Linked DNA regions of Homo sapiens: region 1 is linked to region 2. The links are contacts of gene promoters, found by promoter capture Hi-C in human tissues and cell types (Jung and others, 2019). All regions are on one chromosome and are shown on one strand. Each heading gives the region's core, a stretch centred on a gene start or on the middle of the fragment in contact. The rest is flanking DNA. Distances are from core to core; before and after follow the strand shown. Region 1 holds the start of GPD1 (glycerol-3-phosphate dehydrogenase 1). Region 2 holds the start of DAZAP2 (DAZ associated protein 2).

Region 1 (4,945 bases), core at 2,404-4,903, 1.1 Mb after region 2:
TCATCTCCATGAGTCCCAGCCGGATCACTGCCGCCTTGGTGTTGTCGCCAAAGCCCAGGCCATCACAGAAGCCAGCCCCCACGGCCACTACATTCTTGAAGGAGTGGAGGTCATAGGTGAGAAAAGACCCCCTCCTATAGGCCCCATGTGGAGCCCCCTCATACTCATTTCATCAGCCGTGACACCCACTGCAGAAGAGAGGTATAGTGTGTGGCCTTTTAGAAGCCTACTTCCGCCTCTTGGTTTCCCCCCTTGCTGCACCCCCTTTCTTAAGCCCTGCCCCATACTCCCTCCTCGAGGACATTTTCTGAAAACCACTCTTCTCTCTAGTTGATCTTCCCATCTATGACCATTCCATTGTACAGCCCTCAAGTCAACAGCTGTCCAGGATCCATAGTTCTGGCCATTAGTCTGTCTGGGTGTCAAGGATGTTTTGTCTCCCATTAGCCTGGGCATCTCCTTGTCCCCCTGGACCACCTCCTGGAGCCAGAGGGTGGGGAGTCCCACACGGGGCTAAAATGGGACAGGAGCAAGGGGGTCCACGGTCTGATGATGAATAATCAGCCGGCCTGAATGGCCCTGGCCTTGCTTCTGCAGCTCCTCCTATATGCATGGGACATGGTAGGAAAGGGGAACCACTGCTCAATAGTGAGAGCCTGGAGTACCTGCAGCCTTGCAGAGCTCAGCCAGACCTCCTTTGGGGCCTTCTCCTCACCCCATAGCTGCCTCTGTGCCCCTCTCACCTTTAAGGCTCCACAGATCTCTACTGTGTCCACCTCTTGCACCACTGTGATACGGAAGTTTGGTGTCTGCATCAGCTCTTTCAGGAGTTGTCCCTGGGCCGGGTCCTTGCAGCCTAAAGTGAGGAGGGGGCAAGGCTTTGAGGGAAGGACTCTTTTTAAAAAATATTTATTTTATAGAGATGGGAGTCTCTCTCTGTTGCCCAGGCTGGACTCAAACTCCTGGGCTTAAGCGATCCTCCCACCTCAGCCTCTTAAGTAGCTGGGACCACAGGTGTGCCACTGCACCAACTCTGAGGGAGGGCTCATCACTGTGTTTCCCTAAGCAGGCCCTGAAGCCCCTTCCCTGGGGGTGTCCCAGCCTCCTTCACCTCTGATGCTTGTATTTTCCTTTCTCTGCCTTATGGGAAAGAGATGGCTAAGTGGGGTTGGGGCAGTTTGGGGAGGGGATGCAACTAGATGCACTGTGTATGCAGGTGCCAGGGGGCTCTCACCAATGGTTGTCTCACAGAACTTCTCATCAGCCACCTCGCTGGCAATGTTGGCCCCCATCAGCACACTCATGGGGATGCCGAGGCGCTCCCCAATCACTTCCGAGATGAGCTTCAGCCCATTGGGGCCCTCGTCTACCCCCTGAGCACAGGATGGAGCTCAGGCCAGGTGCCCTTTGGGCCCACCTGCGGGCTTCCGCCCAGAAATTCTGTCCCTTCCAAATCCATTGCTCATCTGTGTCCCTCCCGACAGGTCCTGCCCCATTCCAACCCAGCTCAAGTTTGCTGTGAGGAGGCCAGACAGCATGTGACCAACTGTCCTGCCACATACCCTCAACCAGTCTACTTCTCCAAGGCAACGGGTCCCCTCCACATCCCTAGGCAACCCCGCCTGACTGCCCCAACAAACTGCCATTCAGTGACCAGTCACTGCTCCAAACCAGCTACTCTTCACACTTCTCAAACCAGCCCGCTTCTCATATCTCCCAGGCATTCCTTTATACCTCCGAAACTCCCCGAGAGGACCTCCAAACCAATCTCGTCTCCTCCCTTCAGCCTCCCTTCCAGTGACCCCCAGCACCTCACTGCTTTCCTAAGCCTCTCCAGAGCCAACTGCCTCTCTTTTCTCCAGCAAACTCTTGGCCTGCGTCTGCCATTTTCTGTTCTCCTTGCTTCACCCACCCTGAACCCCACAACAGTGAGCCGCACCCTCCCCCATCCACATGAAGGTGTCCCTGGCACCTTAATAAGAGATATGCCAGTGGCGTTTGCCTTCAGATGGCCCTTGAGCTGGTCACAGATCTTGCCGATGAACTGATGGGGCACCACAAAGATCAGGATGTCAGCATCCTCTGCAGCCTGGACCACATCTGGGACAGCCACCTGTGGGGGTGACCAAGTGCTCGCGGGCCTGGCAGACCTCCCCTAGCCCCTGTGGAACCCTATTCAGGAGATCTGGGAGCCAAAGAGTGAGGCTGGTAGGGGAGCAGGAAGGCTTGTTTGGGACTGAATCTAGAAGGACTGAACTTGGAGGAATAAGACACTCTACTCCCTCCCCCCAGCTACCACTCTGTCTCCCTCCAGCTGTCCTGGGCTCTTGAGGACTCCTGGAAACCTCATCCCAGCACTCTCCTATCCCTTGGCTGTGGGACAGTGCGGGAGGCCAAAAGCAGCCTGGGCTTGGCAAAAGAAAGAGCTCAAATAAGATTTCATCACCCAGCTCCTCAGGAACCCCAGCTGGGAAGGGGGAGCCCCAGCCTTTCTGCTCTCTTCCCTGCTTCCCCTTTCCAGGTGGGGAGAGCCACGTGGATTTGACCAAAGACCGTAAGTCCAAGGAGCAGCCTCCAAGTCGGCTACTCACTCAGTGAATGAGTAACAGGATTAGTGCCGGAGGCAGGCACTACTGGACCCCAAGTCTGGGAGCCCAGTCTTTGGCTGCCATGGAGACCAACTTGTTCTCCCATCCCTTCCCCACCCACCCGCCTGGGAGCCTGTGAGGGGAAAGCATAGGTTCTCCTCAGTCCTCAGGAAAGGGCCCAGAGCAGCCCTCCTGAGACCTTCCCAAGTCCTGCTGCACCTGAAGCGGCCCTCTCAGCAGGAGGCACCTGTTGAGTAAGGTCGGCTCCAACTCCTGGCCCTCCCTTCCTCTCCCTGTTCTTCGCAGGGTGTTGGGGCTCACCACATTTGGGGGCAACTTGTGCCCTGGCAGGTATTTGACATTCTCATGCTGCGTGTTGATGATCTCAGTCAGCTTTTTGCCTCCAATGTCTTCCTCAAATACCCACATGGTCACCCGTGGGTCAAACTGTGCCAGCTGGGCTGCATTGCCACCCACGATCTTGGCGATGGCTGAGCCCCTGGTGGGAGGGGGAGCACAGGAAAGTACAGGAGGAGGGAACAGTGGCAGGAGTTGGGGCAGCGCCCCACCTCAGGATCTCACAGCAGCCCCCCAGGCTGTTCACTCCTACCTACCTTCCTTATCACCTCCACTCCCATGACAAATAGTCCCCAGTGACCTGGCAGTAGAAAGGAGACTCAGTCTCCTCACCCTTTGCTACTAGAGAAGGGAGCCCCACTTCTCATCTTCCCACCCCCAAACTCAAGCGGCTCTTCACATAGAGAGCTCTGGAGACGCCTTCCCATGGTGAACAGGTGCAGCTGCCCAGGAGGGCGGGGGTCAGGAGAGGGCCGGGCACCGTCTGTCCTGTGCTGCTATGATAGAAGATAGCAGCAGGGGCTGAACAGGAACCTGAGGGCCTTTCCCACCCATTCTGCCTCCTACCCACCTCTGTCTTGGGGGGCCTACCCTTCCCCCATATCACTTGACAGAGCTGCTTACCAGTTCCCGGAGCCTACAATGCAGACTTTCTTGCTAGCCATGGTGCCGCGTCTCTGCCTGAGCCGGCTCAGTGCCACACTCCCTAGCTCCTCTGCCGGCTAGGAGCATTTAACTCCACCACACGTGGGTGCAGCCAAGCCCCGCCCTCCAGGGGTGGGTGGGGAGGCTGGCGCCCAGGGAGATAGAGAGTCTGGCAGAGCCAGGGAAAGGAGAGACAGGGGTACAGACAGGTGTGGAACAGGAATGGGGCAGAGACTAGGCCCAGCTTTTTCTCCTGGGCTCATCGGCTGACAGTGCTGGCAAGCTTCTTCCCTTGGCCCCAGCCCAGCTTCCCACCATGGTCTCATTTTGAGGTCTGCTAAGAAAATAGCCCAGATAAGGAGCAGGTGACTGCTCTCCCTTGCTCCTTTCTGTCCCCCAGCATGAAATAAATTGTATTTAGCTTCAGTAGCAGCTAGGGGAATGCTTTTCAGAGGTAGGCTCCTCCATGACCCCCTATCCCCCCGCCAACCCTGCCACATATCCTCACAGGACCCTGTTCCACAGTTCTGTCCTCCAGCAGGCCCACGCTAGCTCCACTGCAGGGCTGGGGTGGGGGATGTGGGCCCACTTCCCACCTCTAAAGATGAGGCCACATAAGAGGTAAGGGCCTGCTTTGAGGACAGCCCAGCTCAAAAAAGGATGAGAGACTCCAGGTGCCTCAAAAGACAAGATTGTCTTGGTCACCCACAGAGGTCATCTTGGGGACTCATCCATGGGCCTCTCAGATGATCCCCACCCAAAAATGTGTTCTAGGGAAGGTGGGAAAGGTTAAAGTTAGAGAGCTCTGAGAATTGCGGTACACAATTTTGTTGTAGACTCTGGGCTTAAGAGGACAGGAGAGAATAGGAGGCAGGCAGAGTGCACACTGTCCTTGAAAGGCTTTGAGCCTCCTTCAACTCCTCCTCTCAGGGGTTTCCAAGGTACTGCCCCAGGGGCTTCATCAGGTGAATGGCTAGTTTGCAGAGGCCAGAAAAGGGGAAGGCAGGCAGTACCCGGGGCAGCTGTGTCCGTGGGGCTTTGTGGTCTCAGATGCTGTGATTGGGGGTAAGTTTGGTGTATGTTTTTTGGGGAAGGGCGAGAATGGAAGGAGCACCCTCAGCAGTTCAGGGCTCTGCATCGCCCACGGCCATCTGTTTGTCTAAGACGAGGGAAGCTCTGGTTTCCAGGCTGATCTGGAGAGTGGAGCAAGAGGCTCCTAACACTGTGCACCTTGGCCTAGAGGGCAGACACCACTGTGTGCTCATGTGCTGACCTCCTGGCTTGGCAGACGGCTAGGTGGGTGTTGCCATCCCCCTGGGCTGTTGCTGGCCAGCAACTGGTAACAAGCACTGGGC
Region 2 (4,557 bases), core at 241-2,740:
GCCTACTACACAGAGCTACCAAAATGAGGCAGGTCATATCGGGTAGCTAACTTAGTGGGAGCAAGCAGAAGGGGATTTGCAAATAGTCTGCCCCAGAGGGCCTGATTCCTGGAACTAAGAAAATATGCATTGTCTTTGCACCCTTAAAATGGAAGGTGCTGGATTCTAACGAGACAAGAAAGGCACTGCTCACTGCTCCTACTAACATACCGAAGTAAGGGGTTAAGTCTACCTGGGCCCAAGTTCCCTCCGGAATGCAGGACAGGTCTGGGGTTCTGGCCTGCTGCTGTTCTGGCTTATCAAGGGTGCCTCTGCTCTAGGTAGTCTCCACAGCCTGTCTACAACCAGCCCAGACTTCGTGGGTAACAGCAGTTCTGATTTTCCTTACAGATTACTATTCAAGGTCGACTTCCAAACAAAGGGTGTGAATGATGGAAGTGAACCGTGAGACTGGGAAAAGGGTGCAGGGCTGAGGGGTGAGGAGGAATATCCTCACTGGAAAAGCGGGGGATCAGGTTTGGTTTTTTGTTTGTTCTGAGACGGAGTCTCGCTCTTTTGCCCAGGCTGGAGTGCAGTGGCGCGATCTCGGCTCACTGCAACCTCCGTCTCCTGGGTTCAAGCAATTCTCCTACCCCAGCCTCCCGAGTAGCTGGGATTACAGGCGCCCGCCACCACGCCCAGCTGATTTTTGTATTTTTTAATAGAGACGGGGTTTCACCACGTTGGCCAGGCTGGTCTCGAACTCTTGACCTCAGGTGATCCGCCCGCCTCGACCTCCCAAACTGCTGGGATTACAGGCGTGAGCAACCTCGCTCGGCCTTTTTTTTTTTTTTTTTTCTATTCCTTTTTTACCCCCTCAACCTATTCCTGCGTTATGGGAATCATGTTCCGACAGACACACTGGTACAACCACAGAAAAGGGGAGAAGTTCTGATCCCGTCAGCGAAGGGCGAGGGGGTGCGAAGGGAAGGAAAAGAGACCTCACAGGCCCCGGCCCACGAACCAACTCCAGCAATTCAGTAGTTAAGTTCGGCCCCGCTGGGGGTTCCGGAGCGCGGCGCCCCGCCTCCGCCGGCTCTCCATTGGCCTACGCGAATGCCTGCGCTAGCGCTCTATTTGCTCCTGCGGATGCCCATCATGTCAAGCCCCCCCACCACCCGAGCCCGCAGCTCCAAACTGCGCCACAGAGTTTACGGAGGAAAGGGCCTGGAGGCAGCAAGCTGCCGTAATTTGGGTATGACGAAGGCGTCAGGCGCAGCGCCCTGGACTGCAGCCGGCCAAGGAGCATGGCGCAGCCCACCCCAAACCTGGCGTTTGGTGACCCTGGGCTCCGAATCCGCTCGCTCTGGGCCAGCAGTACTCCCCCCGACGGCCTCTGCCACCCTCGGTCCTTGCCTTTGCTGTTCATGGTGGTTGCGGGTCCGGTTTGTCTCGGCGTCGCGGACGGTTATTTTTTTCGTCCTCTTCCTGTTCGGAGCTACTTCCGTGTCACATGATGGTCCGTCCGCCTAGCGTCACCCGACGCCCGAGTGGCGCTGCCGCCGGAAACTCCGCCCCTGCTCCGGGCCTCCAGTCGGCCGCGGGAGGGTCCGCGCGGTCCCGCCCACTCGCCTTGGCCCCACCCCCTGCTCGTTTCTGTCCTCCCCCCCCCTACCGGTGTCCCTCAGCTGGAGAAAAACCAAATGCAGGTATTGTCTGGAAACAGGATCTTTTCTCTGTTGGACGCTCGGATGCAGAACGATGCAAGCATTCCCCGGAACCTTTTTCCACCTACACGCATTCACTCAAGGTCACCTCACCTTGGCAACCTTCCACGAGGGGCTTAGATTTCTGCAAATTTGTCGCACTGCCTGAAATCGGCTCCCCACACCTTAGTTTATCATGCGTCCCTCCCCACCAAGCCCAACTTAAGCTTCAGCTCTGTTAAAATTTATTTTGCCACTCCAGCTCACATGTATCCTTTCCTGAATGAGACCTGCACTGGAATCTTCGCTGCCCTGTCTTCCCCAGGACAGTCGTTGCCTTTCTCACGTACAGGAAGGGGTTATGTTTTCCGTGCTGTACGCAACACCTGGCACTGAAACTGACATAACTGCACTACCCATGGAGTGTTTGTGGCCCTTTCCTTTTTTTAGCACCTGTTGCAGGTGACCTGTATGGTACCTCTATTTTTCTCTATGTATGGCTTCTCTTTCTAACCTAATTATCCTTAAGGGCAAAGATGGCATCCTTTAGGGCAGCGATTAAGTGTTTTCTTTTCTTTTTCTTTTTTTTTTGAGACGGAGTCTTGCTCGCTTGCCCAGGCTAGAGTGCAGTGGGGCGATCTCACCACAGCCTCCACCTCCCGGGTTCAGGCAATTCTCCTGCCTCAGCTTCCTGAGTAGCTGGGCCTACAGGCGTGCGCCACCATTCCTGGCTAATTTTTGTATTTTTAGTAGAGACGGGGTTTCACTATGTTGGCCAGGCTGGTTTTCTTTCTTTCTAAAAAAAGTTTTAATTTTTTCTTTTCTTTTTTTTTTTTTTTTTTTTTTTGAGATGGAGTCTTGCTCTGTCGCCCAGGCTGGAGTGCAGTGGCATGATCTCGGTTCACTGCAACCTCCGCCTCCTGGGTTCAAGCAATTCTCCTGCCTCAGCCTCCCGAATAGCTGGGATTACAGGTGCCCGCCACCACGACCGGCAAATTTTGTATTTTTTAGTAGAGACGGGGTTTCACCATGTTGGCCAGGCTGGTCTCGAACTCCTGACCTCAGGTGATCCACCTGCCTCGGCCTCCCAAGGTTCTGGGATTACAGGCATAAGCCACTGCGCCGAGCCTTATTTTTATTTATTTATTTATTTATTTATTTATTTATTTATTTATTTATTTATTTTTGAGACAGAGGCTTGGTCTGTCGCCAGGCTGGAGTGCAGTGGCGCAATCTCAGCTCACTGCAACCTCCGCCTCCAGGGTTCTAAGCGATTCTCCTGCCTCAGCCTCCCGACTAGCTGGGATTACAGGCACGTGCTATTCATTTTTTAATACAGAGATGGGGTCTCCCTGTGTTGGCCAGGCTGGTCTTGAATTTCCAGCCTCAAGCGATCTTGCCACCTCCATTGTCCAATGATTAAAGGGTTAACTCTTAGGACCCAGGAACTCTCCTGGGCCTACCTCCTGCTCATGTAAACTGCCCTCAGATTGGTCAGGCCTACTTTACAGGTTGTTGGGTATTTTGCTTGTCACAGTGGGACCTGGGCATTGGGAAAACCAGGGCAGAGCCAAATGAGATTACTAACAAAAATGAAAGAGTTGCAGGCCAGTGCTTTCTCTGGCAGGTGGAATTAAGAAGTAAATGGTGGCTGGGTGCAACAGCTCACACCTGTAATCCCAACACTTTGGGCAGCCTAGGCAGGAGGATCGCTTGAGCCAGGAGTTCAGAACCAGCCTAGGCAGCATAGTGAGACTTCATCTCTACAAAAAAAAGTAGTAGTAATTAGCTACTTTCTTGAACAGGATCAAACTTTGGCATTTTCTTCATTCTCGTAGATTCCCCAATGAGATGAAGATGTTTATTTGGTCATTTATCAAACATTCTTTCTTACATTAATTTAACAAATATTTTTTGAGCACCTATTATGTGCCAGGCCCTGTGACAGGCACTAGGGAAATAATAATGAAGAGACAGGCATAGTCCATACTCTCATGGAATTTATGGTCTACCTAATGGGAGAGACAGAAAAGTGAACACATAATATGATTAGTGCTGACATAAAGACAGCATGGAGTGTGAGGAGAACACATAGGTGAGGCACCTACTCTATTCTGATGTAGTCAGGGAAGGTTTCCTGATGCAAGTGATGTCTGAGATGAAATCTGAAGGGTGAGAGCAGGTTAAGCAAGTGAAGAGGGTTCCTGGAAGAGGGAACTGCTTATGCAAAGGCCTAGAGGTGAGAAGGCTTATAGAGGGGGAGGGCATGAAAGAGTTCAGTGTAGCCAGAGCATACTGGTAAGGGGACTGATAAAAGATGACCCTGAAGATCCGGGTGCGGTGGCTCATGCCTGTAATCCCAGCACTTTGGGAGGCCAAGGCGGGCAAATGACTTGAGGTCAGGAGTTCGAGACCAGCCTGGCCAACATGGGGAAACCTCGTCTCTACTAAAAACACAAAAATTAGCTGGGCATGGTGGTGCGTGCCTGTAATCCCAGCTACTTGGGAGGCTGAGGCAGGAGAATTGCATGAACCTGGGAGGCGGAGGTTGCAGTGAGCCGCGATCGTGCCATTGCACTCCAGCCTGGGTGACAGAGCAAGATTCTGTCTCAAAAAAAAAAAAAAAAAAATTGACGCTGAAGAACTGTGAGCCAGACCTTGCAGGGACGCCTTAGAGCCCATGTAAGATCCCACATGAAGATACTGGATTCTATGTTAAGGGCACTAGTTAGCCACTGAAGAATGTTAAGCAGGAAAGTGATATGATCTTGTTTTTGTTTGATTGATTGATTGATTGGGACAGGGTCTTGCTCTGTCACCCAAGCTGGAGTGCAGTGGTGCAGTCACAGCTCACGGCAACGTTGAACTCCTG

What was found. The method cuts DNA at HindIII sites, captures the fragments that hold promoters and counts their contacts. A contact is called where the count stands out against the background at its distance.
Region 1: the fragment with the promoter of GPD1 here is called in contact with the fragment with the promoter of DAZAP2 in region 2 in 1 of the 25 tissues and cell types used here (liver).

What each region holds. Positions count from the first base shown.
Region 1 is chr12:50,102,716-50,107,660 of GRCh38, reverse strand. It overlaps GPD1 (glycerol-3-phosphate dehydrogenase 1), which reads right to left and starts at 3,653. Exons shown (of 8, transcript NM_005276.4): 1 at 3,570-3,653; 2 at 2,910-3,087; 3 at 1,973-2,113; 4 at 1,235-1,373; 5 at 744-856; 6 at 1-94. The coding sequence starts at 3,610. RefSeq lists an enhancer at 4,594-4,643. The HindIII fragment of the contact is 8,009 bases long and covers 1-4,945 here.
Region 2 is chr12:51,235,759-51,240,315 of GRCh38, reverse strand. It overlaps DAZAP2 (DAZ associated protein 2), which reads right to left and starts at 1,490. Exons shown (of 4, transcript NM_014764.4): 1 at 1,396-1,490. The coding sequence starts at 1,408. RefSeq lists enhancers at 1-527, 1,244-1,493, 1,417-1,711, 1,803-2,440 and a silencer at 1,584-1,693. The HindIII fragment of the contact is 10,606 bases long and covers 1-4,557 here.